Regions from separate parts of the Homo sapiens genome. Here region 1 is linked to region 2. The links are contacts of gene promoters, found by promoter capture Hi-C in human tissues and cell types (Jung and others, 2019). All regions are on one chromosome and are shown on one strand. The core of a region is centred on a gene start or on the middle of the fragment in contact, and the rest is flanking DNA. Distances in the headings are between cores, read along the strand shown. Region 1 holds the start of ASB1 (ankyrin repeat and SOCS box containing 1). Region 2 holds the start of HDAC4 (histone deacetylase 4).

Region 1 (5,375 bases), core at 115-2,614, 970 kb after region 2:
GTGCAGCCGACAAAGCCAGTGTTTATTCCCCAGGAACTCTCTTTATACTGGGAAGTAGCTGTTGGTCCTCTTTTTCCCACGGAACACGCATCATTCCGTCTCTCACTCTCACATGAGATGACATCCTAGACCCTAAGGTCCTGGCTGTCTCTGAAGTCAAAGTCAACGCCAACCAAAGCCCAGGATGGTAGATGCTTTGTCTGGCTTTTTCTGGTCACTGCAGTATCCTCTGCTGGGTCTAGCCAACAGCAGGTCTTCAATACAAGTCTGTTAAATGATTGGAAGGAGGTGCAGAGGGAGGGATGGATGGAAAAGCCTATCTGCACCAGTCTCCAAGTCAATCTTTTAAGATGTTTAAGAAATGTATTGGTTTATTACTAAGTAGGAGAGGAACCCCTCCAAAGACAAATATAGGCATGTAAAGAAAGCCCAGAACACACGAAACTATTGGCGCGAATGGCAAGCTCAGAAATCCAGCAAGAAGGAACTCCCACCACACCACCGGGAAACGGGAACCTGTCCTGACCGCTTCCTTCACATCTGCATGGTAGGGACACTGCAAGGTGGAGACCCTAAGTAGGACAGTTATTTTGGAAGGTGGGTGTGAGCCTTTCTATCTGCCTCCCTTGCTGGTGGGCCAAAGGCCCCTGGACATGTTGTGTCACTGACGAGCTCGCTGGAGACGGCGTCCCCGTTGTCCCTGGTCTGTGCCTGTGGTGGGTGGGAAGGCTGCCCCCCGCTGTACCACCGGACACGCCGTGGGCGGCAGAATGGTGAAAAAGTGCCTGCCCTCCCTAGGGCTACCCTCTGGCTGGCTTTCCTGATCCGTGCGCTCAGAGCTGGAAGGTGGCCCACGTCCTACTTTTGCGGTTGGGTCATATCAAATCTGTATCGGCTAACGGGAAGGAAGTTACGAGCAAGTTCCACCGGAAAGAAAATCTAGCGCGGGGACTGCACTCGAGGCCGAGGAGAGGGCAGCGCGTCCGTGGTGGGGTCGCCCAGCACTGCGAGCCGCGCTGAACCCCACCCCCGGCCTGCAGGGTGCGGCTCCCTGGCTGCCCCGTGGACCCGGCCAGCCCGGGACGAGGACGCAGGACCTCGGCAGGGACGCCGGAGCCAGCCCTTCGCCATCCCCACACGCCCCGCGGCCCAGTGGCCGCGCGCACGTTACCTGCGGAGCCCGGCCCTGCCCGCCCGTCTGGGCTGCCGCCCTCCGCCATGGATGCTTCCGCCTCCGCGGCCGCCCCTGACCCGCGCACGCCCCTCGGGCAGGAAGCAGAACGACCCGCGACCACTTCCGGCGCCGAGGGCAATGGGGGGCGCGTCGGGGTCGCGGCTTCCGGCGGGCGCGCGCCGGCCTCACTGGTTTCCGGGGCCGCGCAGGGGCCACGCCTCCGCTTCCGGCCTCGCTGTCTAGCAGGGCGCTGGCTGGTCCCTTCGTCCGGCGGGAACTTCGCGGCTAACCGACTCTCTGGATGCCGGCCGCGCTGTGGTTTCCTCACATAAGAAGCCAAGGAGTCGGAAAGCCCGTTGCCTGAGGCAGCAGTCTGGGAATTTCGGTCCGGCGGGCCGTCCCCACCCACACGGACGGGGCGTGGCTTCTGCCAGATGTGGGCGGGGCCCCGAGGGCCGTGGCGGGCGGGACCCGGGCCTCGGCCGGGCTGGCTTGGTCCCCGCAGGTGCCCCCCGCTAGCCACGAGCAGCCCCGGGAGGGTGGATTCGGAGGCGCGGGGACTGGTGAGGGCCCACTGCAGGGCTGAGCGTCGCAGCGTGCTGTGGTTTTAGATGAATGCTCCTCCAAATCCCTTCCATGAAGCCCTCAATCAGGTCGGTAACTGATGACAGCCAGTGGCTGACGCGAAGTTCATTGAATAAATGAATGCATTCGTGAACAACCGAGTAACATTTCTTGCACACTCCCAACTTCAAATATCGCAGCGTCGTCCCACCATGAGTATTGGTGTTGGTCCTAAAGCACGGATTCCCTTGGCTCCTCCCATTCTCCCCTGCTGAGTTAGACAGCGGGGCCTCATGCAGGAGGAGGATTTGTACACAGCACAGCAGGAGGCTGATGAGGGAGTCCGGAGACCCCAGCAGTCGTGGGCGTGAGCTGCTGGCTCATCCGTGTGTACAACATTCCAGACTGGAGTAAGGGAAGCCGCAGGCGCAGCCCCGCGAGTGCCCCTGCTGAGGCTGGCCCTGGGTGGCCCAGATGCACCAGGGGGCCCACTGGGGGCAGACCTGGCAGGCCCTGTGGGGGTTGGAGGCGGGAGTGGGGGTACTTCCTACAGTGGTGTTTGGTCTTGATGACAGCAGAGAGCACCACTGGCATGAGGGACAGGTGACTCCGATGATGACGCTGCCAGGCCAGGAGCCAGGGGTGTGCCCAGCCCCTGGCTCCACCACAGCTGCACATCCCGAACTCGGAGCTTCAGCAACTCCGAAGCCTGAAGCCGCCTCACGTGTTGTTGGATGGATGAATGGATAAACGAAATGCCGTCCATCCATACAATGGAATCGTACTCAGCCTTAGAAAGGAAATGCTGTCCGTCCATACAATGGATTCGTACTCAGCCTTAGAAAGGAAGGGAATCCTGACACACGTCACAACACGGATGACCTTGAAGACGTTATGCTGAGTGAGATAAGCCAGCCACAAAAAGACAAATACAGTACTGTGTGATTCCAATTATTTGAGGTCCCTGGAGCAGTGAAATGGTGGAGCGGAATGGGGGTTGCCAAGGGCTGGGGGAGTGGGGAATGAGGAGTTAGTTTTTCATGGGGACAGAGCTTCAGTTGAGGAAGATGAAAAAGTTTTGGAGACGGGTCACACAGCAATGTGAATTGTGCATTAACAGTACTGAACTGCGCATTTAAAGCAGGTTAAGTTTTATGTTCTATATATTTTACCACAATTGTTTTAAAGAATTTTTTAAAAGAGGTTCCGGTGCAGTCAGTCAGGGGTGCGGGTTGGGTGTTGGGTGGTTCAGAGCACCCAGGTGATTCTAAAGTGCAGCCTGGTGAGAGCCACGTCTCCGGGGGCCTCCGCTGCTCTGCCTGCCTGGTCCCGGTGGGCTCACAGTGAGCGTTCTGCGTGTCGGTAGCCTTTGCATCAAGGTATTGAGTCCCTGAGCAGAGTGGCCCTCCTGCACCTGCACCTCCACCTTCCCTGCCACGTGTTGCCCTTGGGATCCTGCCTCTTAGAAGAACCTGAGGCCGCACGTGGTCTGTAGCGGGGAGGTGGCCTCACATGCCCACCTCCGTGCCTCCTAAATGCCCACATGGTGCAGGGCAGTGTCCACAGAGCCAGCAGTGCTGGAGGGGGAAGGACACTCAATTGCTGGCCACTCTGCCAATACCATCACCCCCATTTCTCAGGACCCTGAGATCTGGGGGCCTGGTGCTATGCCCAAAACCACATAGCCCACAGGTGGCTGAGTTGGGATCACATCCAGACTGTCCAGCCCTACAGCCTGTCTCCCCCTCTGACCTCACCTCTCCAGAGTCCCTCTTCTTCCAGGTCCTCTGAGCCCAAAAGACCCACCAACACAGGGACACTCAGTGACCGCTAGAGATGAAGCAACTTGGGTCCCATCACCTACAAGCAACAGGGATTTACCAGTGCCTACCAGTGCCATCCCAGCCCAGCACAGCAGCAACAGGACCAGTGCAGTGGGCTGTCTTGCCCCTCCAGGTCCCAGTGGCTCCCTCCCGTTTTCCCACCCCTAAAATCACCCGTCGCTTCCTGTTGCCTCCTGGAGGCTCAGGCCTCCCCCAAAGTGTCCCCAGTGACCCCTCTGTGGAGCCTAGCCCAGTCTTTGTGGTGGAAAATTTGGCAGTCTAGCTAAAGCATAAGAATGAATAATCCTTGATCAGAAATGCCTCTTCCAGGCATTCATTCTAGGGAAATAATCAGATGTGGGGGAGATTCAGCTACAGTAGTGCTCATTACCATCATTTTATAACAAAAATGTCCAACAATGGACTTTCTGGTTCAGGAGGTCTGAGAAGGGGCCCCCATCCCTCATCCTTCCTGTTGCAGGGAACTGGGGGCCCCTCTGGAAGCATGGCAGGTATATGGGGGGCTGGAAACATGAGCTCCACAGCTGCAGGCTGGTGAGGATCCTGCTGGGCCTGGGTGTGCTGGTGCTGCTGTCGCTTAACCCCCACAGCTGTCTCCGGGAATTGGGCAGCAGATGTCACCCAGGCAGGGACCAGAAATGGGAATCTCTCCTGATCCTAGGCCCTGTGGGCCTGTGTTTGGGGTGTCTCCTCCCAGGAGGCCCAGCCCTCTCTTCCCCTTTGAAGGATCTCCTGCTTTGAAGGAAGCAGGGGATCTGAAGGTTTACCAGGTGAGGCCACGAGATGAGGGCAGCCCGCTGACCCTCCAGGCTTTGCCCTGGAAACATCTTTACCAGCCCCTGCCCCGCAGACCCTGTCTCAGGCCTTGGAGCCCACCTGCAGAGAGTCAGGGTGTCTGCCCCAAGCTAGGGAGGCAGATCCACATCCTTCCAGCTGAGTCACCAGGACAGGGTGACTCCTCTGAGCACCAGCTGCCTCCCTGTCAAATCGGGCTGATAATACCCACTTTGCAGGCTTTGTAAAGACACAAAATCCCATAGAATGTGCCACAGGCTTCCTGGGGCAGAGAGAGCCTCAGGACACAGTGGGCATCGGTGCCATGGCTGCTAACGCTATGGCATGGCTTTGCTGAGTGGAGCCACGCCCACCTCCAGCCTCCCACCCCACCCCACCCTGTCCTAAACTGAGCCCACCTTCTCTGCCCAGCTTGGAACAGAGCAGGGCTCAGGGGTAGACGCAGTGTCCCAGCAGGCCCTCAGCTTGGGGCTGGTGGGGCTGGGCAGGGCCCAGGCCGTGATGTTCCTTGCAGCCCTCGAAGCCTCCCTCTTCCAGCCAGGTCGGCCTCTGCCTGGATGTGGTTTAGCCTGGCAGTGGAGGTCCCAGGGAGGACCGGGAAGCCCAGCTGTGGGGACTGCAGAGGACAGTGTGGGCCCTGGGAGTCCTGCCAAGGGGGTGCCCTCTTTCAGCCCCCCTCACAGGTGCTGTGCTGCCTCCCTTGGTGTGACCGAGAACTCCACTAGTGTCAGGAGGCCACAGCGCTCAGTGAGCCCCTGCATCCTCTACCAGGGCCTGCGTCTCTCCAGGCAGCACCTGTGGAAGGCAACTACCATGTGCTGGTCACTGCCACAGCGGGAGGAGTCAGAGGTGAGGAAATCTCAGTCCCAGAGCAGGGACTGGCAGCAGAGACAGGAGGTTTTTAGAGACTCTTCGGCCACAGCGGGACCAACAGCCCAGCTTGCCCAGCACTGAGTGGGCCTCAGAACACAGAGCTGCCAGTTTTCAAAGCAGGGTGA
Region 2 (5,364 bases), core at 1,313-3,812:
ATAACATGTTTTTATTTTCTGGAAGCACAGTTTCTCCTTCATTACTCTTCTTTTTGACTGCTCTCAAATCTTTATTCTTCCAGATGAACTATTTAACGATTTTCACAATTCCCAGGAAGTTCTGTTGGAACTTACTGTTACATTTAGGTACTTAAAATGTTTTTGCTAATTGAGAATGTTTCATATTTTCTAACACATATGTAAGTGCTTAGCACAAAGCTCACCACATACTGAATATGCAACAATTATTTAATTACCGATTGAATGTTGTCAGTTATCTGAAAGTTACTGTTATTTGTATATTTTATAATTGGCCAGCTTGCCGATCGTAGCCAGTCTAGGAGTTCTACCAATTTATTGGATCCACCAACCCTAGATTTTAAAATTTGAGTCTTTGATGCTGGTTTCTTTCAACTGTGAGAACACGGAGATTCCTTTGAGTGTGATTCATTTGACTCTGTCAAATACCTGTATGTGAAGTCCCAAGCGCGAATGCTCCCAGGCATTGGGGTTGTCACCCCACCTTTCTCCTTATACACAGCTCACAGGATAGCGTGTTTGCTTTCACTGCACACTATCGTACTGAATTGCTCTGCACTGGCTGTGCACCGGTCTCCTTCAGACAGCCCCTCTGACACATAATGGCAGACACAGCCACCCAGGCCAAGTTTCTCTTTTCCAGACATGGCGAGTGAGGTTCTTGCACCATCCACCCAACGTCTGCGTGGTGCCTCACTCTGCTGGAGTGCCTCTCAGGACTCCTGTGAGGACTAAATGGCACGCAGCAATGGGGCTACCCATTCCTTCTAATGGAAATCTACTTTTTAAAAATTACCTCTGCAAGCATTAGATCCCAGAGCTCGTTTCACGTGACTTTTTGCGCAGGCACTTCTCTTTGTACGTGAAAAACTAACTTTGGTAGACTTACAGGCAGGTTTTAATATTTTCTCGTGATTGTATGTTTTTGAGAATCCTGTCAAATGATACTGAATCTTATCTAGATGTTAGCTAGCTACAGACCCTGTTTCATTCTACATGAAAATTAGATAGTGCACCGTTTCCATCAGCAGCCAAGTCTCCAAAACCCCGTAATTGCTCTCCTTTTCTTCAGCTGTATCTTGTTTTAAAGTTCTCTAATTCACCATTCCTTTCCTTCTAAGTTTAGCCTAAGCATTTCTTGCAATGACCAAAGTTTTCTAATTATTAATGAGATATTTAAGGAAATGTAAAATTGGCATTTTTATTTTGCTAACTGTATTTTTATCCACATAACTAGTTTCCCCCACCAAGAATCACAGGTCGAGAATGCTGTAAAAACGGATCCTTTCTCAGCTCCTAAAAGGAATGGCCTACAATCGAAGCGAACGCGCATCTCCGCCAGGTCCGCAACCACAGGCCCACGCCGTCGGGCCCCACGAACCGGCGCGCGCTGTCAAAGGCGCTTCCTCCCTGGAACGCGGGATTCCGGGGACAGTGTGTGCACTCAAGTTGAAAAGTTGTCATACTCCTGTTGGAAAGAAACGGAAACATCACCACCAGGAGGGTGGCCACTGAAGACCCTCGCCGACACCTGCTGGCAACCAAAGGCGCTTCCGGGGATCTACGGGCCGACCTGTAACTCAACACAAGCCTCCCAAGCCCTGCGGCCTTAAAACAACGCCCACCCGGGCGGTGCGCCGTTCCCGCCACCTCCACGCCTGCCTGGACCCGGACTCGAGACCCTGGCGGCGGGCCGGGCTCCCTCCGCCTGAGCAGGGACGCGGCGAGCGCATCCCACGACCCTCGGCAGCCGTTGCAGGCCTGGCGGACCTACACCCCACACCCTCACGGCCGCGTTCCCGCCGCGGGGCAGGGCGAGGCCCACGGCGCCTGCGCACTCAGTGACCGGGCCGCCCTGCGCCTCCGTGCGCACGCAGCACCACGTGACCCACTGCCAGTATCCAAGATGGACGCCGCGGCGAGGCCTGGCCGGCTCCCCGCGTTAGCCTGCACCCCATTGTGTGCCCTCTAAGCGCGAATTAGGCTCGCAGACATGCGGTGCTGACCGCTAGGCAGCCATGCGGGCTACCGAGTGCGACCGGACACGGCCGGGGCCCGTGTTTACGGCCACTACTGGCCCCCGGTCCCTGCGCCTCCTCAACCGCGAAGCACCCAGCGGCTGGCGCCTGGAGCGTCTTTTGGTACGCCCCACCCTCTAGAATTGGCAGCTCCAGCAGCCAATGAGGTCCAGGACGCGTGCGGGGAGGCGGGCAGGGGTGGAGCCTCTCTGCCGCTCATAGGGCATCCGGCCCCGCGGTTGAGCAGCCGCTGGGCGAGGGGTGGGAGCAGACGGGCTGTGCGCAGGTTTCAGCGGGCCAATGGAAGGCCGGCCAGGCGCCCGGGGCGGGCGGGCGGGAGGCGGGGCCGAGCCGTAATTGACGAGCTCTTCATTAGAAACCAGGCGGGAGGGCGGGGCCCGCAAGGGGAGGTGACGCAAGGCTGCCGCAGCCAATGGTTGGCGAGCCGCCGGCTGGCTGGGCGGGGCCGGGCCGGCTGACGGGCGTGCGGGGTGGCCTATCGCCGCCTGGCTCGACGCTGGAGTGGGGAGAAGCATCATGGTTCAACGTGGGTCAATTTTTTGTGAATGAGGAGGGGAGGTTGTGGGGCCGCCGCCGCGGAGCACCGTCCCCGCCGCCGCCCGAGCCCGAGCCCGAGCCCGCGCACCCGCCCGCGCCGCCGCCGCCGCCGCCCGAACAGCCTCCCAGCCTGGGCCCCCGGCGGCGCCGTGGCCGCGTCCCGGCTGTCGCCGCCCGAGCCCGAGCCCGCGCGCCGGCGGGTGGCGGCGCAGGCTGAGGAGATGCGGCGCGGAGCGCCGGAGCAGGGCTAGAGCCGGCCGCCGCCGCCCGCCGCGGTAAGCGCAGCCCCGGCCCGGCGCCCGCGGGCCATTGTCCGCCGCCCGCCCCGCGCCCCGCGCAGCCTGCAGGCCTTGGAGCCCGCGGCAGGTGGACGCCGCCGGTCCACACCCGCCCCGCGCGCGGCCGTGGGAGGCGGGGGCCAGCGCTGGCCGCGCGCCGTGGGACCCGCCGGTCCCCAGGGCCGCCCGGCCCCTTCTGGACCTTTCCACCCGCGCCGCGAGGCGGCTTCGCCCGCCGGGGCGGGGGCGCGGGGGTGGGCACGGCAGGCAGCGGCGCCGTCTCCCGGTGCGGGGCCCGCGCCCCCCGAGCAGGTGGGCTCCGGGCCGCCGGGAGTGAGGGCGGGGGCGGGCGGGCGCCGGGGCCGGCCGGGCGCCGTTTATGTAACTTTGTCAAATGCTGTGAGTTTGCAGAAAAACGTCCCTGCCGGGGGTCCGCGGCCCCGCGCTTGTCGTCGCCGCTGCGAGCGCCCGGGGGGTCGCGGGAGGGCGGGGGGCTGCCCGGGACCCGCTCGGCTCAGCCCGCAGGGCGCCAGCAGGCCGAGACGGGGCCCGGTCCCGCTCGGGGGTGGGATCCGCGTTTGCCGGCGTTGCGAAAACACACCACGGAATCATAAGCAAATTATCTCGTATTTACATTGAGCGTTGAATTATTTGACACTGTTATAGGAGGAGACCGTGCGTATCAGTTGGAAAGGCCGGGGGTGGAACCCAGTGTACTCATTTAATGCACATCAAAAATTTGTAATAACTTGAGGCAGCTGATATGAGTGTTTTCTTTATTGCATGTTGTAAATTGACCTGCTGTGACACAGTTTTCAAATAAAGCGTTGCAGAAATTAAACTTAAGTTATTTTAAAACTAATGACTTTCTTCACTAAATCCTAATTGCATGACTGTAGAGACCTACCTAATTGCTTGCTGAGAGCAGTTCTGCTTGCTCTCCGTGAGGGAGGAAAGGGCCTGTGCAGTCACTTTGCCGCCCCGTTTTTCTCTGTTCAGGCTTTTCTGTTTATTCCCACAAATCACCGAAGCAGTTAAGGCCTGGGAGTAAGCCTGTAAACAGTCCTGGCCCAGCGCCAGCCCAGCAGGACTGGGGGGATACTGGCAGGTTTGCACCTTGACCTGGTTTCACTTTTTCTTTTGTAATATGATCGTGGTTGCCTGGAGTTTTAATTGCTTCTGATAATTCTGTGCATTATTTTCGGGACTGTCCAAAGAAGGCTGGTGTGGTGGTTTCAGGACCTAGCCAGGAAAGGTGGTGGTGGTGGCTGGGGAGAGGGAGGGTGGAAGGGAGGGAGATCGAATTAAGAAAACTCAGCTGCTTGTACACAAATATACACTACAGCAGTTACAAAGCAACAAAAGTTATTGCAGAATTTTGCAGTAACTATGGCAACACAATTACTCTATTATAATTGGAAATGCAAAATGCCACCGAGTTAGAAGTTTCATCAGAATGGAGTTTTGGATATCAAAAATATGTGAAATTTAATTTTTTTTCAGGTAGCTCTTGTGAATTCTAAAATCTGTGTTCAATTACCTATTTTTAAGACTGATCGGGCTTTCCCAGATATTCTACTCTCTGGGATCTGTGGCATCTTTCCCCAGAAGAACTCACATTTGTGTGGGAGGGAAGTATTTTCATGCCTTAAAAACACACACCCCAACACATTGTAAGACTTCTATAGCTTTCTGTGTTCTGGGCTTTTATTTTAGAGATCAAATCCCATCCTAAAGAGAGCAGTAATCAATTAGAAAAGAAGCCGGCTGTACTCAGCAGGCAGATGTAACGCTGCCCTCTTTAGGGTTCTTTCTCCTGCAAGGGGAGCTGGCAGCAGGCATGCCCCCGGGGGAGCCCTGGGCTAAGGGGACGGGGTGGAGGGAAGATGACTGGACTGCATATGGGCCTGGAAGGCCTAGGGACGAAGGACAGATGTGGCCTCGGAGCCCTGCACCAGAGAGAATGTTCTGTGTTCAGCAGCTTCCTAGCCATGCAAAATAAAAATCCCCAAATGCCATATTCTCGGAGGCCTTGGGGGCTGTTGCTGTAGCAAGATGGACAGGACAACCTGGCACGCTGGCCACGTGCGGCTCAGGCAGCCCATCTGGACTCTGTGGCCAGAGACCTCGTTGAGAAGAATGCCCTATGGATGTTTACCAGGAGGACTCTAGTGCTGGAAGTTTCCACACATTGTGGGGTTGCTGCAGTTTAATTTTGTTATAACTCTTTCCTTTTAACTACTGCATATTTATGCCCAGTAATCGACTTCCATTCTCCAGCTTCATTGTGAGGTTTCAATGCAGCATGAATGGCTTTGAATTCCAATCCTTTAATGTTGGGGGTGGCACCAAAGGAAAGGCGACTTTATGCTGTCTTAATTGCCGGAGCAGAAGAAACATTTCATCACTCCTGTAGAATTCATCCATACCATTCTCTATTGAAAACGGCTGGGCTTTCATAGCTCAGAAGC

What was found. Contacts are between HindIII fragments. The study calls those that stand out against the background at their distance.
Region 1: a contact is called between the fragment with the promoter of ASB1 here and the fragment with the promoter of HDAC4 in region 2, in 1 of the 25 tissues and cell types used here (adrenal gland).

Annotation. Positions count from the first base shown.
Region 1 is chr2:238,422,916-238,428,290 of GRCh38, reverse strand. It overlaps ASB1 (ankyrin repeat and SOCS box containing 1), which reads right to left and starts at 1,364. Exons shown (of 5, transcript NM_001040445.3): 1 at 1,172-1,364. The coding sequence starts at 1,220. LOC124908002 (a long non-coding RNA gene) reads left to right here and starts at 1,397. Exons shown (of 2, transcript XR_007088163.1): 1 at 1,397-5,375. RefSeq lists enhancers at 616-735, 2,248-2,783 and silencers at 986-1,505, 1,526-1,915. The HindIII fragment of the contact is 10,702 bases long and covers 1-5,375 here.
Region 2 is chr2:239,398,218-239,403,581 of GRCh38, reverse strand. It overlaps HDAC4 (histone deacetylase 4), which reads left to right and starts at 2,562. Exons shown (of 27, transcript NM_001378414.1): 1 at 2,562-2,604. HDAC4-AS1 (HDAC4 antisense RNA 1) reads right to left here and starts at 2,146. Exons shown (of 2, transcript NR_135575.1): 1 at 2,046-2,146; 2 at 1,225-1,507. RefSeq lists an enhancer at 1,354-1,483 and silencers at 1,614-1,883, 2,154-2,273, 2,294-2,733, 2,744-2,913. The HindIII fragment of the contact is 13,359 bases long and covers 1-5,364 here.